2 separate regions of the Homo sapiens genome follow, and region 2 is linked to region 1. Evidence: promoter capture Hi-C in 16 types of primary human blood cells and fetal thymus (Javierre and others, 2016). All regions are on one chromosome and are shown on one strand. Each heading gives the region's core, a stretch centred on a gene start or on the middle of the fragment in contact. The rest is flanking DNA. Distances are from core to core; before and after follow the strand shown.

Region 1 (4,109 bases), core at 866-3,365:
TCAAGGAAGACAGCATGGAGGGAAAATAAATAGAACACTGAGGAAAGATTGATGGCAGGAGATGGAAGCAAACAGAAAAGGAGTTCTGAAACAATATTCTTTCAAAGAAGCCGTGAAAAGAGTTCAAGGGAATTGAAGTAAGTCCACAGGAAAGGCTGTCTTAAAAGTGGAGTATGAAAAATTTGTGGTTAGCAAGCAGCTGACTGAGGTTAATTTTTTTTTAAGTCTCAGAGGAAGGAAATGATATTGTGTAACAGTTTTCTCTAACTTGGCAGGCTTTTAAATGTGGGTCCCGATCTGTCTTGCCAGAAGGGTTGAGAGCTAGGGAGCAGGGAGAAGGAGGGTATGGGTCTCTCCAAGACTCTGTGTCTTAAGAAGGTTGTATTGAAGTCAGGTTATATCTTCACTCACAATATGAGACAATAAATTCAAATAAAACGTCCATTTTTGTCCCCTTATTTTGTTTAGGCTGGTAAAGCAGGTTTGATGATGTTTTTGTCAGGTTGACAAAATTATCAGCAACAAGTTTTTATCTGGAATATCTCCCTCATTACACTTGAATTTCAACAGGGTTCCACCACCCAGGAAGACAGAATAACCGGTTTTCTGAGTTTTTCCTGATACAATTCTGGTTATCACAAACGACTTGAGATCCCTACTCTTCTTTAAAAGGGCAAGAAAAGGGAATCAATATCAATATTTGATAATGGCATTTAAAAAATAATAGACATCACTTTTGCGTTTAAAAAATGTTTTTCAATATTTAATTTACAAGTTGAGTACAAGCCATAAAAAATGTTTTTAAAATAAATTTGAGGAATTGAAAACTCCTAAGTGGTCAATTGAGCCCACATGAATCTACCAAACAAGACTGAAATGTACTTTCACAACATATGGTCTGATGAGGTTTTTCCTGTTAAACAGAGAAAAATAGACCCGGGGAAGTTGCTGGAAGGCATGAACCATGTACCATTTAAAGAGAGGTTTTCCATACTTATGCAAATGAGACCCCGTTAAAGACTCTACTACAGGATCTAAAGCTAGCCGCTCCCCAGTCTGGGGCTCAAATGTTCTCATCTGTAAAATAAGGGAAAAGAGAAAGGGTGGTATATGTGTCTGCGTATTAATTATTTGAGTGTGTGTGTGAATTCTTTGGATATGAAAATAAAGAGAGAAGACATTAATTATTTGGGTGCGTATGTGTGAATTAATTCTTTGGATATGAAAATAAAGAGAGGGCCGGGCGCGGTGGCTCACACCTGTAATCCCAGCACTTTGGGAGGCCGAGGCGGGTGGAGGCCAGGACCAGTCTGGGCAACATGGCGAAACCCCATCTCTACAAAAAATACAAAAATAGCCGGGTGGCGTGGTGCGTGCCTGTAATCTCAGCTACTAGGGAGGCTGAGGCAGGAGAATCCCCTGAACCCGGGAGGCGGAGGCTGCAGTGAGCCGAGAACGCGCCACTGCATTCCCGCCTGGGAAACAGACCATCTAAAAAAAAAAAAAAAAAAAAAAAAAAAAGGCCGGGCGTGGTGGCTCACGCTTGTAATCCCAACACTTTGGGAGGCCGAGGCGGGTGGATCACGAGGTCAGAATTCGAGACTCAGCCTGGCCAACATAGTGAAACCCCGTCTCTACTTAAAAAAAAAAAAAATACAAAAATTAGCCGGGCATGGTGGTGCGTGCCTGTAGTCCCAGCTACTTGGGAGGCTGAGGCAGGAGAATCGCTTGAACCCGGGAGGTGGAGGTTGCAGTGGGCCGAGATCACGCCACTGCACTCCTGCTTGAGCAACAGAATGAGACTTCAAAAAAAAAAAAAGAAAGAGAAAAGACAACCTACCCCAGTATAAGGGGTAAGAAAAAGGATTCAGGGAGGCTCAGGAACTTAAGGCCTCGAGCACCTGCACCTCCAGCCCCACCCGCTAACCCTCCCCAGCGTGGAGATACAGCACAGGGGCCAACATGGCGTCAGCACGCTGGGTCTCGCCTGCGACCCCCGTGACTCCGCACTGCTGCAGCCCGGGCGAGGCTGCGCCCCATTGGCCAACTGCAATGAGGTCATTGCGGGGGCGGGGGCCGGCGGCGGCGCAGGGGCGGGGCTTTACGGACGCAAGCACGTCGAAGCGCTGCTCCTGGAGCCGCGGAGGGTGCGGGTTTGGCTGCGGTGGTTTCTGTGGCGGTTGCTGTGGCGGAGTTTGGAGGTGAGTGGGGGCTGTAGGTTTAGCGCAACAGGGAGCGGCCCTCGATGGACGTAGGAAATCCTTCTAAGAGCCCCCTTGATTGTCAGAGGAATTAGCGGGGATCTGACGTCTTCGAGATAAAATGGGGGTTCGCCCCCTCCTTGGGCACCCCTCCTCTGCCCTGAGGAACCGGAGGCTCACTGCCCTTTGGAAGCCCCGCATCTCTTCCCTGCTTTAAGGGGTAGGCGGAGGAACCGGAGGTTATTGGATAGGCAGAAGAATTTAGGGGGCTTCTTAAAGGGTTTCTCAGTTTGGGGGTTTTCCTCTCCTTTTTTCCCATCTCAAGGTAGATGAGCCTGAGTCCAGAGAATTCCTGCTCATTGGGTAGACAGGAAATGAAGCAGGTGAATACCGTGGGAGGAGGCGAGGACCGGATGACAGGAGTGAGATTCTTCTAGGCAGGGCGCGGGGGCGCTGTAGTTGGACTCATCTTTTGCAGAATTGCTGTTTCTTCATATTTTGTTTTGTGATCGTCCAGAACTACTTTGGCCTAATTAGTTTTCTGTTAGCCTCCATTGCTATAGAGATATTCTTGGGAGACCTATAATCATTAAAGAGCAGGAGGACGGAGGCGACTCGTTGGAGGCTTATCATTATCCACAGCTCCTGAACTATGCTGACCAGGCCTAATTTTATGTGTTTAGAGGTTGTAGAATCTCTCTTTGTTTAAGGGTGGTGCCGGTAACAGCTGATTTGGATGATTCAGATGTACAGAATCTTAAAGTCAGCCTGCATATTCTCTTGAGAAGTCCTTGCTTATGTCTGAGCTTGTGTTACTGTCTTGAACATCACATGCACAAAGGTTTGTTCGTTCAGATTTCTCAAAATGTCTCCCAGCCTTCCAGAAGAGTAAATCTTCCTTTGATGTCAGACTCATCTATCAGTACTCAGTATAGATGCCCTTATGACACTAAAAATACTGTGCATTTTTCTGAGTTTGGATACTGGACAGGCTGTGCCTTACATTAGCTGATCGAGAATAAATAATTGCAGTTTCAGGACCACTGATAGCGCCAGTTGTCTCATACCCGGCAACAGTAAGACAGCACTAAAACGAAACCTTTATTGGCTCATGAGATTTGACAGATGGAAGAATGTAATTAATCTTGAAGGTAGGGTTGAGAAACAGAAAGCTGCAGAGGTGGAAGGCTTATTCTCTGTGGCTTGATAAAACTGCTTTGTCATTATCAGTGTGTTCCTGTCATGCTTGATTTGAAATTGAGCTTAATATGCAAACTGGTTGCTTTTTCCAGATGACGGTTATTTGTTTGAATTCCTAAGTGGGGAAATATTGTTTTCTGAGGAATCTGGAAGATTAAACCCTTTAGTGTAGCCATAGCTTTAGGATAGTGCCAGAACTTTGGGCTTTTAGAAATGCGCATTGTCAGTAGAAGGGAGAAGGATAGTTACAAGGCAGACATCTTTATGAGAGGGTATTGAAGGCCTCTTCTGTTTGTTTCCTGCACTAGCAAAAACAGATTGAGCAGTGTGAAACTCACTGCCTCAATATTGTGTCCTGGGTATTTAAAGAGTTGTTTGAGGTTCCCAGTTCCTGTCTTTAATCTGGATACATTCTTATCAGTTGAGTTGCCCAAAATAATTGTCATTTGATCCTGATGTTGACTGGAATGGAAGTGACTTTTCATCTGACACTCTGTGGGACAGAATTCAGGAACTGCCTTTGCAATTTCTCCTTTCCATCTTTCTAGACAGGGTGTCAAAAACAGTTGTTGACCTGTCCTCATGGGGTGTTAGAAATGTAAATGCAAGAGCCGTAGTGGGGTGTCATTTGCTCTTAGCCCTCGTGGTAATTTCCAAAGTTATGTCATTTTCTCTTTGCTTCAGGTTGGAGAGAAATCCAGGTACTCA
Region 2 (4,053 bases), core at 1,530-4,029, 260 kb before region 1:
CACCCAGCCAGTCACATATAGTTTATCTTAACTTTACCTGGTTACTGGGTGACCATCTGTGTTAGCCTGTTGCCTTTATCCCAAGGAAAATTACAAACTTCTCTTTTTTTGTTTTTTGTTTTTGAGACAGGGTCTTGATCTATTGCCCAGGCTGGAGTGCAGTGGTGCGATCATAGCTCACTGCAACCTCAACCTCCTGGGCTCAAGAGATCCTCCTGTCTCAGCCTCCCAAGGGACTGGAACTACAGGTACGCACCACTACGCTCAACTAATTTTATTTTTTGTAGAGACGAGAGAGCTCCCTATGTTGCCCAGGCTGGTGTGTTCTTGACCTAGGCTCTCAAAACACTAAAACCACTCCCTTTCTCCCCTTACTTGCCTCTGGATACCTTTGAGAAGAGAGCTACTACTTGCTGAGCACCTCTCTTCCCTTCACAGCTGAGCTTCTTTCAACAGGTCTGTTCTCACTCTGGCTAACTCACCTCACTTTCACGTTTTTTCTCGCTGAGATCTTGCATTTGCTTTTATTATTTATTTAAAGACAGGGTCTTGCTCTGTTGTCCAGGCTGGAGTTCAGTGGCCTGGTCACAGCTCATTGCAACCTTGAACTCCGGGGATCAAGCAATCCTCCTACCCCAGCCTCTGAGTGGCTAGGACTACAGGCATGTGCCACCACACCCAGCTAATTAAAAACATTTTTTTTTTTTTTTTGTAGAGACAGGGGGTCTTACTATGTTGCCCAGACTGGTCTGGAACTCCCGGTCTCAGCGATCCTCCTACCTTGGCCTTCCAAAGTGCTGGAATTACAGGTGTAAGCCACTAGACCTGGCCCAGTAACAGCTTTATTAGATATAATTCACACACCATACAAATCACCCATTTAGTGTACAATTCAAGATCTAGTATATCCAGAGATATGTGCAACCAACACCACAGATAATAACATTTTCCTTACCTCAAAAACAAACCCTGCAGAGTCTCTCTGAGCCTACTGTGCCTCAGGAGACTGCCCAATTCGTTAAATAAAATAAAATAAAATAAAATAAAATAAAATAAAATAAAATAAAATAAAAAACCCCAAACTCAGGCTGGGCGTGGTGGCTCACACCTATAATCCCAGCACTTTGGGAGGCCAAGGCAGGTGGATCACCTGAAGTCAGGAGTTCAAGACCAGCCTGGCCAACATGGCAAAACACTGTCTCTACTAAAAATACAAAAATTAGCAGGGTCTGGTGGCCGGCGCCTATAATCCCAGCTACTTGGGAGGCTGAGGTGGGAGAATCGCTTGAAACTGGGAGGCAGTGGTTGTAGTGAGCCGAGATGGCGCCACTGCACTCCAGTCTGGGTGACAGAGCGAGACTCTGTCTCAAGAAAAACAAACAAAAAAAAAAACAAAACAAAAAAACCCCCAAACCCTGTATCCTTTCACTATTACCTCCAAACTCCTTCCCAGCCTCTAGGCAACCTCAAATTTACTTTCTGTCTCCATAGATTTGCCTATCCTAGACATTTCCTATAAATGGCATCATATAATATGCGGTCTTTTGTACTTGGCTTCTTTTCTTTTTCCTCGCTCTGTCACCCAGGCTGGAGTGCAGTAGCATGATCACAGCTCAAGTGATCCTCCCACCTCAGCCTCCTGAGTAGGTGGGACTACAGGGGTGCACCACCACATCCAGCTAATTTTTGTATTTTTTTGTAGAGATGGGGTTTCACCGTGTTGTCCAAGCTGGTCTTGAACTGCTGCACTCAAGTGATCCCTCGCCTCAGCCTCCCAAAGTGCTGGAGTCCCAGTCATGAGCCACCGTGCCCGGCCTGGCTTCTTTCATCTAGCATGATATTGTCAAGGTTCATCCGTGACAACATCATGTCCTGTGTGTCAGCACTTCATTCCTTTTTATTGCCGTATATTCCATTGTACAGATATACCATAATACATTTTGTTTATTCATCAGTTGATGGACATTTGGGTTGTTTCTGCCCTTTGGCTATTATGCATAATGCTGTTATGAACATTTGTCACAAGTGTTTCTGTACATATATGTTCTCATGGTTCTTATGTAGATACCTACAAGTGGAATGGCTGGGTTTTTTGTTTTTTTTTAATTTGAGACAGAGTCTTGCTCTGTTGTCCAGGCTGGAATGCAATGGCATGATCTCGGCTCACTGCAATCTCTGCCTGCCGGGTTCAAGCGATTCTCCTGCCTCAGCCTCCCAAGTAGCTGGGATTACAGGCGCGTGCCACCACGCCCAGCTAATTTTTGTGTATTTTTAGTAGAGACGGGGTTTCATCATGTTGGCCAGACTGGTCTCGAACTCCCGACCTCAGGTGATCCACCTGCCTTGGCGTCCCAAAATGCTGGGATTACAGGCATGAGCCACCGTGCCCGGCCCTATTTGTTCCTTAAGAGCCAGCTCCAGGCTGGGCATGGTGGTTCACGCCTGTAATCCCAGCATTTTGGGAGGCCAAGGCAGGTGGATCACCTGAGGTCAGGAGGTCCAGACCAGCCTGGCCAACATGGTGAAACCCCGTCCCTACTAAAAATGCAAAAATTAGCCGGGAGTGGTGGCGCCTGTAATCCCAGCTACTCAATTAAAATAAAAAAATAAAATAAAAAAAAAGCTTGAGTTGCTCAGTGGCCTTCCTGCATGTTCTTTTGCATAATGACTTTGGGATGCCTTGATTGCAGCAGGAAGCGATATCCTAGCATAATCAGTTGTGGTAGCTGCCTTTCTCCAACTGTGAGCCTCTGCAGGGAAGGCACCATTTCTCATCCCACACACAACGCTGAACTCAGGGTCAGGTACTCTAAATGTGCTGAATCTTAAGGACAGGCTTTCAGCCGGGCGTAGTGGCTCACGCCTGTAATCCCAGCACTTTGGGAGGCTGAGGTGGGCAGATCATGAGGTCAGGAGATCGAGACCATCCTGGCTAACAAGCTTTCTGGAGTCAGGAGGCTAGGAGACCATCATTCTTATTTTCAAAACATCATATGAGCAGGAAGGTATGAAAGGCCCCATCTGCCATCAGAGCTAATGACGTGCCCTCTGAGGCAGCCAACTCCCAACCACCCAACCAGTTCCCTTTTTCAGGGTCACGCTGATGACTTGAAACTTTTCCGTGTTCAAGCTGCCCTCCCTTGGCATGTGACAGAAAAAAGTAAAAACAGGACTCAATACCATCCCTTCAGAGGAAGGCTTTATTGTAACATAAAATACACAACTTTGTGACTGTAACTCTGCATAGGATATATTTCTTTTTTTTGAGGCAGAGTCAAATTTGAGGCCCCAAATTGTACACAATACTTTTTTTTGGTGGCTAAATAACTAATCTGCCTTGACACTAAAATATGTATCTGAAATAATTTCACCAAGTTTTAAAAAGAAAAATTATAAAAAGTATACTTTCATTTTAAGTTATATTCGATTTTAGTCTCCCCCTACCCCCTAGAAAAAACCTGCACATCTCACACACGGAGCTGAAACTTTTGAGGACTTGTGTGTGTCTGGGAGTGGGTGAGAGGCTGATGGGGTCGAGACACACCACTACCTTTATCTTGTGGTTTGCAGGAACAAGGAGGAGAGAGAAGATAGAACGCAGAGAGCGAGCACACCTTTCATCAAAAATCTCCACTCTCTAGGCACAGCCTCGGTAACACCGAGGACAGCTCACAACTGGACAAGCAGGGAAACCCCAGCTCAGGGAAGCCACACTCATCAGCTCTCTTCCTCCCCAACCCAGTGCCAACTGCAAAGTGAGCCAGGACGGCCTGGCTGCTCTGTCCTCAGCAGGCCCTGGGGTGGGTCCACTCCCAACCTGAAAGTGTATCAAGTCTGACCCCCCAACCAGGGTTGCTGGAACAGAGAGCGAGGTCTCAGAGGCAGGTGCTGGTGAAGCATCTCTGGGAGACGGGCAGGGAGTGACTCTACGAGCCTGGATCCCTGAGCAGGCAGGCTCTCCTTCTCACCCTTCCCCGATGCACCCATCCTCATGGTTGGAATTTTCATCAAATCTTGAGGGGTAGGGAGGGGCTGAGTGGGATGCGGGTAGCC

What was found. The method cuts DNA at HindIII sites, captures the fragments that hold promoters and counts their contacts. A CHiCAGO score of 5 or more calls a contact.
Region 2: a contact is called between a fragment that was not itself captured here and the fragment with the promoter of ATP6V0A1 in region 1, in 1 of 17 cell types (erythroblasts). The highest score is 5.2, in erythroblasts.

Annotation. Positions count from the first base shown.
Region 1 is chr17:42,456,763-42,460,871 of GRCh38, forward strand. ATP6V0A1 (ATPase H+ transporting V0 subunit a1) reads left to right here and starts at 2,116. Exons shown (of 22, transcript NM_001130021.3): 1 at 2,116-2,201; 2 at 4,086-4,109. RefSeq lists an enhancer at 1,736-1,825 and a silencer at 1,976-2,185. The HindIII fragment of the contact is 8,228 bases long and covers 1-4,109 here.
Region 2 is chr17:42,195,995-42,200,047 of GRCh38, forward strand. It overlaps STAT5B (signal transducer and activator of transcription 5B), which reads right to left. Exons shown (of 19, transcript NM_012448.4): 19 at 3,183-4,053. Among named protein-coding and RNA genes, the nearest start is that of GHDC, 3.5 kb to the left of the region's middle. The HindIII fragment of the contact is 317 bases long and covers 2,622-2,938 here.